Linked DNA regions of Homo sapiens: region 1 is linked to region 2. The links are contacts of gene promoters, found by promoter capture Hi-C in blood cells and fetal thymus (Javierre and others, 2016). All regions are on one chromosome and are shown on one strand. Each heading gives the region's core, a stretch centred on a gene start or on the middle of the fragment in contact. The rest is flanking DNA. Distances are from core to core; before and after follow the strand shown. Region 1 holds the start of FAM178B (family with sequence similarity 178 member B). Region 2 holds the start of ANKRD39 (ankyrin repeat domain 39).

Region 1 (6,667 bases), core at 1,986-4,485, 130 kb before region 2:
TACCACTCTAGGAGTAAGTGATCATTTACATGCTTCCTGGAGACCTCCATCCTCAGGAAAGCTAGAAAAAGCTACTTGTAAAGAAAACTCTGGCGAAGCTCTGGCAAGAGACTTCTGAGTCCTTATTAAAGTGATTGCCTCTAGCGTTCCTCCAAGTAAGAGCGGCTCCCAAGACCAATCTGCAACCCAGCACCTTTGAAATATTATATGGTCCTTTTGAGTCTTCACAGGGGTGCCTTGTAAAGGCATTAGAAAAATATACCAATGTAGATGCTGTCTCTGAGGCAGGTCAAATTCTTCTGGGGACTCATTTTATTAGTCAATCTGCTCCAGATATTAAGAGAAAGTTACAAAAACTGGCTGTAAGTCCCCAGGCACCAATGAATGAGCTAATTAATGTAGCCTTTGAAGTCTTCTATAATGAGACAGAGTAGAAGAGGCTAAAAAGTGAAAGAGGGAAGAGGCAAGAGACATAAACCAGGCCTCCGATTATTGGCCCTTGCTATCAGAGAGAACAAGCCAGTCCAGACCAAGCCCCAATCTGGGGACACCTGCTACACTTAAAACCAGGACACTGGCCCCAAAACTGCCAGACCAAGGGACAAAATGCCCAAAAGTCCGCTCCACCTAGACCATATCCACAATGCAGAGATGCCAGTCACCGGAAGCAGGACTGCCCCCAACTCCGTAGGGAGACAGGGGCTTCCAATTCCTTGATGGCCCTGACTAAAGACTGAGGAGACCCAAGGCTAACACTGGCTGTCATTCAGTCCCCATTACCACAGAGGAATCCAGTGACCCTGCACGTGGCAGGTGTAGCTAATTTTCTATTACATACAGGGACCAGCCTGTCAGTCCTTACATTCTGCCGTCGACCCTAGTAGGCCAAATAGGCCAAACACTGCACTGCCACGGGAATTGATGAAAAACCCGGACCAGATACTTTACCCAACCTTTTTACCTTTTTTTTTTTTTTTTTTTGAGATGGAATCTCACTCTGTTGCCCAGGCTGGAGTGCAGTGGCACCATCTCGGCTCACTGCAAGCTCCGCCTCCTGGGTTCATGCCATTCTCCTGCCTCAGCCTCCTGAGTAGCTGGGACTACAGGCGCCCACCACCACGCCCGGCTAATTTTTTGTATTTTTAGTAGAGACGGGGTTTCATCATGTTGGCCAGGATGGTCTTGATCTCCTGACCTCGTGATCCGCCTGCCTCGGCCTCCCAAAGTGCTGGGATTACAGGCGTGAGCCACCGTGCCCAGCCACCCAACCTTTAATTTGCAGACTCAAGGACGTGAATGCCTAACTCCCTTGTTGCTACCCTCGTTGGGGGCTTCTTTAAAACCAATGAAACCAACTGAACCCCTTCTCATAGGAGCACTCTCAAAAGCCCAGCTGACCACCATAACACACCATAGTCCAGAGAATCCAGGACATTGCCAGCTGGGTGCATCTCTCTAGGATAAAAACTGTTTCCCTTACGTTTCCACAGGACTCTACATCAACAACTAAAAATTAAAAATCCTTTTGTAAGCCTATAGAAGACCTAACATTCATTTTCAAGAAAAGATGCCAACACCCCAAATAAAGAGATTAATATTACTTTAACATAAGGTAGTCCCATCTCAGGTCTCCTATTTGTAGGAGCTCTTTTTGTTCTTCTGCTTGCTGAATAATGATGTGATGCTTCATTCTGCTACCTTTCATGGGACCTACAATAGCCATCTTATTACTACTGACCTTTGGTCCTTGCTTGTTTAAGCTCCTTTAAAGTCTGTGTCTTCTAGGTTACAACAATTCCTAGATTGATAGTTATGCAAGGATTTCAACTTATCCCAGTGGAGGATATGACCCCTATCACTTTAAATCAGGCAAGAAGAGACTTTCGGGCCCTGGTCCTGTCTCAGCACGAAGCAGCTCCAGAAAAAATGACCCAGCCCTCCACATTTCATAAGAACATGGACCCAAAGTCTCTGAGGGGGAAAATGAGGTCGGTTAGATACAGTGGTCATAGCCTCCTTTAAAGGGGAATGAACTTGCCAGATTGATGTAGAGAACAAACCGCCCACTGGTGCATAAACTGCATCAGGCTCCTAGTTAGAACATCCTGCAGCGAAGAGGATGAACAGCAGAAGGGAAAATCCCCAAATTCACACAAGTGCAGAAACCCATGATTAGAGTGTCCTTGGAATGACCTATGCTCATTTTAATGCTAAAAAACACACCCCTGGGTGAGGAATTAAAATGCTAATGAGACATGTGATGTGGTGTACTAGCACGCACATGCACATCTGGGAGACCCCGTAACATGCTTAACAGTAATGCCCATTCCCGCTCCTTTATGAATAATTATGTAAATCTCCCATAAAGGGAAGCTCATCACTGCCAAACAGACACAGCTATCTCACACGTGTGTGTGTGTGTGTGTGTGTGTTAGAGATGGGGGCTTGCTCTTTCGCCAGGCTGGAGTACAGTGCCACGATCTCGGCTCACTGCAACCTCTGCCTACGCCTCCCAGGCTCAAGTGATCCTCTCACCTCAGCCTCTGAAGTAGTTGGGGCTACAGGCACTGCACCACTATGCCCGGCTTTTTTTTTTTTTTTTTTTTTTTTTTTTTTTTTTTTTTTTTTTTTTTTTTGAGACGGCGTCTTGCTCTGCTGCCCAGGCTGGAGTGCGGTGGCGCGATCTCGGCTCATTGCAACCTCCACCTCCCTGGTTCAAGCAATTCCCCTGCCTCAGCCTCCCGCGCAACTGGGATTACAGGCGCACGCCAGCCACCAAGCCCGGTTAATGTTTTTTAATTTTTAGTAGAGACAGGGCTTCACCATGTTGGCCAGACTGGTCTGGAACTCCTGACCTCAGGCAATTCGCCCGCCTCGGCCTCCCAAAGTGCTGGGATTACAGGCGTGAGCCACCGCGCCCTGCCCACGCCAGGCTAATTTTTGTATTTTTAGTAGAGACGGGGTTTCGCCATGTCGCCCAGGCAGGTCTCTCACTCCTGGGCTCAAGCAATCGTCCCGTCTCAGCCTCCCAAAGTGCTGGGATTATAGGCATGAGACACCGCGCCAGGCCACTGTCTCACTGTCTTGGTAAATGCAAGCTACTACAAGTGCGCGTGACCCAGGACTGCCTGGGGGCAGGAGCTTCCGCCAGCCAATTCCCGCGCACGTGGATGCGCACGTGGAGGGCGAGCAGGAAGAGGGCGCGCACGTGGAGGGCTAACAGGAAGAGGGTGCGCACTTGGCCGGCGAGCTCCCCAGCTGGCGGCGGCGGCGGCTGTGAGCTGGCCGCTTGGTTTGGAGTCGGAACTCAATCCCCAGAACTGGATCTTTAGGTTCCACGTTGGCGGCCCTGGATCTAGGGACGCAACTCTTGGGGTCCTCCCACTGCGCCGCCTGGGGAGCCTGCTCCTGCTTCCTTTCCCGGCTAGCTGGCCCCGTCCTCTGAGGCCGTGCGAATTCCCGCCACCCTCCCTCACCCCGGAGCCCTGCCCTTCCCGCCCTATGTGGCCAAGGCTTCCAGGTGCGGGCCTCGCTCCACAACTCAGGAGGCAGGATCAGCGGCTCCATTTTACAGGTAAGGAAACTGAGGCCGAGGAACCGCAGGGGCGCGTGGTTAGCGCTCAGAGAGCACTCGACTTCCCTGGGACTCCTGGCTGGTCCAGGCCTTGCAGGTCAGCCCCGGTGCGGCCGCCGGGCTACTCTGGCGCTTTTCAGGTTCCTGCGACCCCGCGTGGTTCGGGTTCCGACGTGAGCCGGGCCCTCCTCTCCACAGGCCACTGCGCGGCCGGCCTTGGTGGGGTGGAACCTTAGATTGGTTTGAGAACTGGTTTATGTTTTGGTTGATGTGGCATGTTTTGTTTTGATTTTTAATGTTCCCCAGGGTGCAAAGGGTAGCTGGTGTTTTCTTTCCAGAAAGGCTTTCTATTCCCAGCCCCTGCCCGGTTTGATGGATGTGGAGTTTATGATGCTGGAGACCGTTTTCTTTGTGGGTAGAACGCATCTCCTTTCATCTTTCAAATTGTGAGCTCAGTCCTTGCTGACAGGAGCCGCTGCTCTCGCCAGCATTCCCAAGCTATTAAATATTTGTTTAAAAGGATGGATATAAAACATGATGTTAGGAATAAGGCGTCTTGAAAAAGCAGTATTCGCAGAAACAGCACCATTGTAATATTCTGAATTCATCTTGGCTCTTTTGACATCAGGGCCCAAAGCACTTGGGATTCCGTAATTATTTGGCCTCATGCTACACTTTAAGACAGATTATTTTATTTTTCTTGTAGTCAGGAAAGTAAAAGAACAAAAAAACTGAGATGACATGTTGAAATCTCACTGCGAGGACGCGAGGGAGGATGAGGGAAGCGGGGAGGGCGGCTGAACGCTAAAGGCTGGGGCTGGGGTTTGCAGGATTCGGGGAGACAAGAGCCCAGGCAGAGGGATGTGCTGGGCAGAGGGGGCGCCATCCATGGGCTGCATTGTAGAGTGAGCATGGCCAAGTCAAGGAGCTGAACAAGACGACTTCAGTCCTGAACCTGGAAAGAATGTGAGATGGAGGAGAAACAGGTCCTGGCTGGCGGGTATTGGGCCCCAGGAGGGAAAGAGATAACAAAGTTAAGTTTGGAGACTAACGCTGTCTCCTGTTTGACTGGGGGGCCTTCATATCCCCTCCCACGCTGTCAGGACACGTACTGTAGGCACTGGAGCAGGTCACACCAACTAGAATGATCGGTTTCCATCCATTCCGGGATGCATTTTTGTTCACATTTTAGCAGCTCTGAAGTTGGGCTGGGTCCCACAGTTTGTGTCTTTCTTTGTGTCATCGTTCACTTGGCAGCTTTTTGTCGGTCTTAGTGGCACAGAAAGTCACAGTGCCTTAAACCCAGCAGCATCTTAGCTGTGATGAAGGAGTCAGCCATGGCCTGAGTCCAGTAACTGCAGGATCCAGAGTTGGAGACGCAGGCAGAGAAGATGACCCACCTCAGCCTGCACCCTTTTGTTGTTTATGTCTTTGTCTTTGAAAGTGCTTGTTTCAAGGCATGTGAGGGAGGGGATTGGCAAAAGCAAAAACCTGGAAACAACAGATAGACAAATGAAAAATGTGTTACTTTGTGGTTGGGAGAGGGAAGAAACAGCTGGTAGCTGCATCTCCCTTCCAGGTAAAATTGGAATGCCATATAATCACTGGTAGATAGCACCTTTGAGTGAAAGGCATTTTGCAGCAGCTAGAGTCAGCTGCCCACTGAGCAGGCAGCCCTGGCCCAAGAGCCTCATAAGCAGCCAGCCAGTCTGAATACGCTGATTGGGCCAGTGAGCCCCAGGCTTCATCATCTGCTTGAGTCTTGGTGAGCCCTGGGTCTGTCCTATGACAGAAACTTCCTGCTGCTGTAAGCTCCTCTAGGGCAGAGACTGCATCTTCCTCATCCTTGAGGTCCCAATGCTCAGCATACTGCCTGACACATAGAAGATGCTAAATTGGGGTTTGTTGAGCGGGAACTGTATTGAACAGGTTGGGCAAATTGTCTTCCTGGTGGCGGAGTGAAAGTTTTTATGTACCACTTTGGCAGGGCACAGTGGCTCACACCCGTAATCCCAGCACTTTGGGAGGCTGAAGCGGCAGATCACAAGGTCAGGAGATCGAGACCAGCCTGGCCAACATGGTGAAACCCCATCACTACTAAAAATTAGCTGGGTGTGGTGGCACCTACCTGTAATCTCAGCTTCTCAGGAGGCTGAGGCAGGAGAATCGCTTGAACCCGGGAGGCGGAGGTTGCAGTGAACCGAGATTGTGCCATTACACTCCAGCCTGGGCAATAAGCGAAACTGTCTTGGAAAAAAAAATTCATAGCAGATTTATTCATAATACCTTGAAACAAGAAATAACTCAAATGCTCATCAACAGCGGAATGGATAAATAAGTAGTAGTTATTCATATGATGAAATATTGTATAGTAATAAAGATTACTGAACTGCTGCATGAACTACTGCTACAGGCATATAGCATGCAACAACATACATTTAGCAGTAGTTCGTGGATGATTTTCACATGCATAATGTTGAATAAAATATATGCAGAAGTGCACAAAATTGATGATTTGGCTGGATGCAGTGGCTCACGCCTGTAATCCCAGCGCTTTGTTAGCTGAGGTGACCAGATCACCTGAGCCTAGGAGTTTGAGACCAGCCTGGGCAACACAATGAAACTGTTTCTACAGAAAAATATAAAAATTAGCTGGGCATGGTGGCACATACCTGTAGTCCTAGCTACTCAGAAGGCTGAAGCAGGAGGATTGTTTGATCCCAGGAGGTTGAGGCTGCAGTGAGCTGTTATCACACCATCCGAGTCTGGGCAGCAGAGCGAGACTATGTCTCAAAAATATATATATATGATTTTATGTATGTGAAGTTCAAGAACAGGCAAAATAATCGGTGGTGATAGAGGCAGAGTAGTATAACCTTTGGGGTTATTGACTGGAGGAGGTACTTCTAGAATGTAAGAAATATTCAATATGTTGATCTGGTAATGGTTACCATATGTATGTATATGTGTATATATATGCACACACAGACACACATTTATACTAAATGTACACATATGTACATAAAAATCAATCATGCTGAACACTTAAGATTTGTGCATTTAGAGCCAGGCATGGTGGCTCATGGAATCCCA
Region 2 (6,653 bases), core at 4,104-6,603:
CTCTTCCCTGACCATGCCCCTGTGACCAGACCTCCCAGGCTGTGAGATGTTTATGATGCCCTCACCATGGTGGTTTTCCTTCCAGCCCCCATTTCCGTGACTGTTTCCCTGAAGTGCTTGCATTATACCCTTGTGCAATACTCTTTTTGGTTTTTTTTTGAGATGGAGTCTCACTCTGTCACCCAGGCTAGAGTGCAGTGACGCGATCTCAGCTCACTGCAACCTCCACCTCCCAGGTTGAAGCTATTCTTATGCCTCAGCCTCCTGAGTAGCTGGGATTACAGGTGCCTGCCACTATGCCCAGCTAAAGGTTTTTTGTTTTTGTTTTTGTTTTCTTTGAGATGGAGTCTCACTCTGTCGCCCAGGCTGGAGTGCGGTGGCATGATCTCTGCTCACTGCAACCTCCACCTCCCGGGTTCAAGCAATTCTGCCTCGGCCTCCCAAGTAACTGGGACTACAGGCACGTGCCACCATGCCCAGCTAATTTTTTTTTTTTTTTTTTTTTTTGAGATGGAGTCTCGCTCTGTCACCCAGGCTGGAGTGCAGTGGCGCAATCTCGGCTCACTGCAAGCTCTGCCTCCCAGGTTCACACCATTCTCCTGCCTCAGCCTTCCATGTAGCTGGGACTACAGGCTCCCATCACCACGCCTGGCTAATTTTTTGTATTTTTAGTAGAGACGGGGTTTCACCGTGTTAGCCAGGATGGTCTCGATCTCCTGACCTTGCGATCCGCCCGACTCAGCCTCCCAAAGTGCTGGGATTACAGGCGTGAGCCACTGCGCCTGGCCAGCCGGCTAATTTTTGTATTTTTAGTAGAGACAAGGTTTTACCATGTTGGCCAGGCTGGTCTTGAACTCCTAACCTCAAGTGATTTGCCCACCTCAGCCTCCCAAAGTGCTGGGATTCCAGGCATGACCTGCTGTTCCTAGTTGCCTTGTGCAATACTCTTGTGGCATGTTTGCTACACCTCCTGAACTTTGATTTGTTTGCCTTTTACCAGCTATTATGACTCAAAATTGTCCCCTAGAACATGGAATAATGGCAGAAAGAAAGTGTGTGGTTGAATAAACACACAGATTGGCATCCACCGTTGAAACAGGAAAACATCTTATGTTATGCTGCTGCTGTTGTGAGGGCTGATGGGCCTTGAAATGTATTTCCTGCACTATGTGTGTGTGAGTGTGTGTGATTATACTTTTTGGCCTCACAGCCCCATCATCCCTTTCTAATAACGTCACGTCGATAAGGGGCTTAGGATTGCATCTGGCCTGTGTAAGCCCTCTGAGTTCTGCGGTTCTTAGAGTTCCCTTTTCAGCACTATAGCTCTGCCTTGTTCCCTTGTTCCTCCTTCTGGCGCCCCGTGCTGTGCCCCCTGCAGGAGTCCAAGCTGTCCCCATGCTGCGTTCTGGTCCGGCCGCCCCTCCCGTGGTGTGGCCCTGGCCGACCCCCCTCCTGCGCCCCGCTTTTCTCGCAGAAGCTGCTCTTTGCCGGCTCCCGCTCTCAGCTGGTGCAGCTGCCCGTGGCCGACTGCATGAAGTATCGCTCCTGTGCAGACTGTGTCCTCGCCCGGGACCCCTATTGCGCCTGGAGCGTCAACACCAGCCGCTGTGTGGCCGTGGGTGGCCACTCTGGGTGAGTTGGGCTCTACATAGGCCAGGACCTCCAGGGACTCAGGGTGGTTGGAGCCAGGCTGCTGATGTACCCTACATCCCCTACCAGATCTCTACTGATCCAGCATGTGATGACCTCGGACACTTCAGGCATCTGCAACCTCCGTGGCAGTAAGAAAGGTGAGCTTTTTCATTCCCGTCGCATCGGGCTGAGCCCTGGACCAGAGCTGGAGTTTCTGTTCTCCTCTTCCCCAGCCCTGCTTTCCTGCACTAACATGCACTCTGTTTTCTCTGCCACTACAGTCAGGCCCACTCCCAAAAACATCACGGTGGTGGCGGGCACAGACCTGGTGCTGCCCTGCCACCTCTCCTCCAACTTGGCCCATGCCCGCTGGACCTTTGGGGGCCGGGACCTGCCTGCGGAACAGCCCGGGTCCTTCCTCTACGATGCCCGGCTCCAGGCCCTGGTTGTGATGGCTGCCCAGCCCCGCCATGCCGGGGCCTACCACTGCTTTTCAGAGGAGCAGGGGGCGCGGCTGGCTGCTGAAGGCTACCTTGTGGCTGTCGTGGCAGGCCCGTCGGTGACCTTGGAGGCCCGGGCCCCCCTGGAAAACCTGGGGCTGGTGTGGCTGGCGGTGGTGGCCCTGGGGGCTGTGTGCCTGGTGCTGCTGCTGCTGGTGCTGTCATTGCGCCGGCGGCTGCGGGAAGAGCTGGAGAAAGGGGCCAAGGCTACTGAGAGGACCTTGGTGTACCCCCTGGAGCTGCCCAAGGAGCCCACCAGTCCCCCCTTCCGGCCCTGTCCTGAACCAGATGAGAAACTTTGGGATCCTGTCGGTTACTACTATTCAGATGGCTCCCTTAAGATAGTACCTGGGCATGCCCGGTGCCAGCCCGGTGGGGGGCCCCCTTCGCCACCTCCAGGCATCCCAGGCCAGCCTCTGCCTTCTCCAACTCGGCTTCACCTGGGGGGTGGGCGGAACTCAAATGCCAATGGTTACGTGCGCTTACAACTAGGAGGGGAGGACCGGGGAGGGCTCGGGCACCCCCTGCCTGAGCTCGCGGATGAACTGAGACGCAAACTGCAGCAACGCCAGCCACTGCCCGACTCCAACCCCGAGGAGTCATCAGTATGAGGGGAACCCCCACCGCGTCGGCGGGAAGCGTGGGAGGTGTAGCTCCTACTTTTGCACAGGCACCAGCTACCTCAGGGACATGGCACGGGCACCTGCTCTGTCTGGGACAGATACTGCCCAGCACCCACCCGGCCATGAGGACCTGCTCTGCTCAGCACGGGCACTGCCACTTGGTGTGGCTCACCAGGGCACCAGCCTCGCAGAAGGCATCTTCCTCCTCTCTGTGAATCACAGACACGCGGGACCCCAGCCGCCAAAACTTTTCAAGGCAGAAGTTTCAAGATGTGTGTTTGTCTGTATTTGCACATGTGTTTGTGTGTGTGTGTATGTGTGTGTGCACGCGCGTGCGCGCTTGTGGCATAGCCTTCCTGTTTCTGTCAAGTCTTCCCTTGGCCTGGGTCCTCCTGGTGAGTCATTGGAGCTATGAAGGGGAAGGGGTCGTATCACTTTGTCTCTCCTACCCCCACTGCCCCGAGTGTCGGGCAGCGATGTACATATGGAGGTGGGGTGGACAGGGTGCTGTGCCCCTTCAGAGGGAGTGCAGGGCTTGGGGTGGGCCTAGTCCTGCTCCTAGGGCTGTGAATGTTTTCAGGGTGGGGGGAGGGAGATGGAGCCTCCTGTGTGTTTGGGGGGAAGGGTGGGTGGGGCCTCCCACTTGGCCCCGGGGTTCAGTGGTATTTTATACTTGCCTTCTTCCTGTACAGGGCTGGGAAAGGCTGTGTGAGGGGAGAGAAGGGAGAGGGTGGGCCTGCTGTGGACAATGGCATACTCTCTTCCAGCCCTAGGAGGAGGGCTCCTAACAGTGTAACTTATTGTGTCCCCGCGTATTTATTTGTTGTAAATATTTGAGTATTTTTATATTGACAAATAAAATGGAGAAAATGAAACGATTGCTCTGATGGGGCTAAGATGTTTGGGCTAAAGCCTTTCTGGGTACCAAGAGGGAAGGCTCTCTGGGTGGAGGGAGGCTGGACTGGGCCTCCCCCACAATCCCAGGGCAGCCACCACTTTTGTGGTCCCTGCCTGCCTGTGGGAGGGGACAGCCCAGCTCTAGTGTTTTCCCACAGTGGTGGCTGCGGGGCTGGGAACGAGACCATGGCCATAGCCCCTTGGGAGCCAGCCTTGGCTTCTGGCCAGAAGGAGAAGTCAGGGCACTGGGAGTCCAGGGGAGAAGCGGAGTGGTGGGGGGGGTGCCTTCCCAGAACTCAAGACGGGTAGTGGGAATGAGGGGCCAAAGGAGTGGAAGGTTGTGGAGATGAGATCATTGCTTGTGTGAGGATGGGGTTCTCAACCTGCTTAGGGGAGGAGAAACGACTTCCAGCCTTCTACCCACCAGGAATGCTAGGGTCTTCCGTGCCCCAACTAGCGGGGGAAGGAACTTACATCCAGTGTGCACCAGACCACTGTCCTGGAGAGGGACTGGCACAGAACCCAACCTGCATTCTGTCGTTCATGCACTCTTTCTAAGCCGATCAGGCGGTCTCCCCTGTACACTTGATCGTGGCTTGAGCAGGCAGCTGCCTGGGTTTTAACTGGGAATTGAGAAGGCTGGGGTCCGCTGAGGAGCACGCTGCGAAGGTGCGCGGTCCGCAGACGGCCTCCCGGTGGGTTTTGATCATGAAGACCGATTCCGTAAACTCAGCGCCCACTGTGGGGCCAGGGGGTTCTGCACAAACCAAGGCCCTGCCCCTGCCCTGAGGTGGAGCTACAGGCAGGACAAGTTGTGGCCACCTGCCCCTTGCTGGACTTGTAAGGAAGAGCAGGGTACGGGGAGGGGCGTCTCGAGGCCTTTCCAGCCGTCACTTTGCCGCTGCCCCGGGGGCGGTCGGCCTTGGTCCGGGGTGGTGCCAGGAAGAGGGGCTAAAAACCGTGGAGCGCGCCCCGGCCCGATGGCTCACGCCTGTAATCCCAGCACTTTGGGAGGCCAAGGTGAGCGGATCACGAGGTCAAGAGATCGAGACCATCCTGGCGAAACCCCGTCTCTACTAAAAAATACAAAAAATTAGCCGGGCGTGGTGGCGGGCGCCTGTAGTCCCAGCTACTCAGGAGTCTGACGCAGGAGAATCGCTTGAACCCGGGAGGCGGAGGTTGCAGTGAGCCGAGATCGCGCCACTGCACACAAGTCTGGGTGACAGCGAGACTCCGTCTCAAAAAAAAAAAAAAAAAAAAAAAAGACCGCGGAGCGCGTGGCGCCTCCCTGCCCTAGGGACTAGGGGCGGTAAAGAGAGGAGGCTGCGAGGTCGCTGGACGGCTGGGTCATGGCGAAGGTAACGGGAAAGCTCCCGACCGGACCCAGCTGCCTCATCCCCACACCCTGCAAGGCCAGGCGGCCCGGCGGCCCTCCAGCGGCGCGCGGCTCCCGGAACCCAGCGCCTCAGTCCTCGCTTGGCCTTGGACGCCCTCGCGCGGAGGCCTCGGGGCACGGCCGGGCGCAACAAGCCCCGCCCTACCGTTGCAATTGGTTCTCGAGCTAAGGCCTAGGCGTTTGATTGGTCAGCTTTGGCGAGAAGGCGGGACTAGGGCGACAGCCGCGGACGCCGAGCGGCCAGATCAGGGACGCGGGGCGGGCCCTGCGTCCGCCCCTCCCGCCGAGGCTGAGCCTGAGACCCGGGGCGGATCGACTGACGCCGGGGCCGGGATGGCGACGCCTCGGCCCTGCGCGGACGGGCCCTGCTGCTCGCATCCCAGCGCGGTGCTCGGCGTACAGCAGACGCTGGAGGAGATGGACTTCGAGAGGGGTGAGGCTGCCGCGCGGCCCTCGTGGTTCTCACCAGGCCCCGGCCCAAGGAGGAGGCGTGGGGCCAAGGAGAGGCGGATGAACGGGGCCCCGAGAGCTTGGGGCTTGGGGCTTGGGGCCTGGTGCGGGAAGGCGGGCGGGACCCACGGTTCCCGTGTACTGAGAGCCTCCCAGGGCCCCGCACGAGCTCGGCCAGGAGACACCTGTCCCGCGGGCGGCGGGGAAGCGGAAGCACTGGTTTCCGTAACCCTCCCGAGTAGCGGGGGACGACCTCCCCTGGGAGACACAAGCCTGCTCAGGTGTTTGAGAGAGGGCCCGGGGAGCAGAATCTGCACCAGGGGCATTGCACCCAACCTGAGGGGCATGGAGCTGCAGGCCTGGGGGCTGCGCGGTGAAGGAGAGCAGTGGCCTTTGTTTAGCCCCGGGTGCCAGGCAGCCTGCATGCTTTAAAGATGGCAAGAGCTTCGCACGGGCAGCCTTCGAGGCAGGGCACAGTATCTCATCTGTGGGACCCAGAGAGGTAACACGTTTGGCCCAGATTATACAGAGATTATGGTGCCAATAGGAACAGAGGAAGGCGGGAAACCAGGGTGCTTCTTGTGAGCGTTGGGAACCACTGTGCTGTGTCATCTGCCCTTGCGGATGCAGCCCTCGATTGCCACTGCTGTGTAAGCATTCTCATGGAACTCTTCCTTTACCGTGGTTCTGGCACCTGCCTACTTCCCTCCGCCCCTCCTACCGCTGTCCTCTGCACTGCTGAAGTGGTTGCCTCAGAGGGTCTTTCTGCTTCCACGCTTGCCTTCCTACAGGGTTTTCTACTCTCACATAGCAGCCAGAGCGGCTTTTTGAAAATTAGAAATCACATCATTCCCTGTTATGGCCTACAAAGCTCTGTAGACCCACCCCTGCCGGTTCTACTTCTCCTCCTCATTTTATTTCTCATGCTTTTCTTCCCCCAATCACTACGCCGCAGCCACACTGGTCTTGTTTTGGTGTCTCAAATATGCAAGACCTTTTCCTGAGTTAAGGCCGTTGGACTTGCTGTCCCATCTCCTTAGAATGAACTTCCTACAACCGTTAAGCTAGCTGATGCTTTTCTTCAGATCCCAGCTCCAATGTCATCTCCTCAGAGACCCTCCCTAAACACCCCAGTTCTCAACTGGGGGCAGTTCT

The links. Contacts are between HindIII fragments. The CHiCAGO score rates a contact against its expected background, and 5 or more counts as called.
Region 1: a contact is called between the fragment with the promoter of FAM178B here and the fragment with the promoter of ANKRD39 in region 2, in 5 of 17 cell types (non-activated CD4 T cells, naive CD8 T cells, erythroblasts and 2 more). The highest score is 10.4, in non-activated CD4 T cells.

Annotation. Positions count from the first base shown.
Region 1 is chr2:96,983,148-96,989,814 of GRCh38, reverse strand. It overlaps FAM178B (family with sequence similarity 178 member B), which reads left to right and starts at 3,235. Exons shown (of 17, transcript NM_001122646.3): 1 at 3,235-3,574. The coding sequence starts at 3,502. RefSeq lists enhancers at 3,157-3,677, 3,678-4,198. The HindIII fragment of the contact is 31,542 bases long and covers 1-6,667 here.
Region 2 is chr2:96,856,716-96,863,368 of GRCh38, reverse strand. ANKRD39 (ankyrin repeat domain 39) reads left to right here and starts at 5,353. Exons shown (of 4, transcript NM_016466.6): 1 at 5,353-5,481. The coding sequence starts at 5,382. It overlaps SEMA4C (semaphorin 4C), which reads left to right. Exons shown (of 15, transcript NM_017789.5): 13 at 1,475-1,632; 14 at 1,720-1,790; 15 at 1,914-3,651. The coding sequence ends at 2,743. RefSeq lists silencers at 4,823-5,492, 5,523-5,692. The HindIII fragment of the contact is 20,079 bases long and covers 1-6,653 here.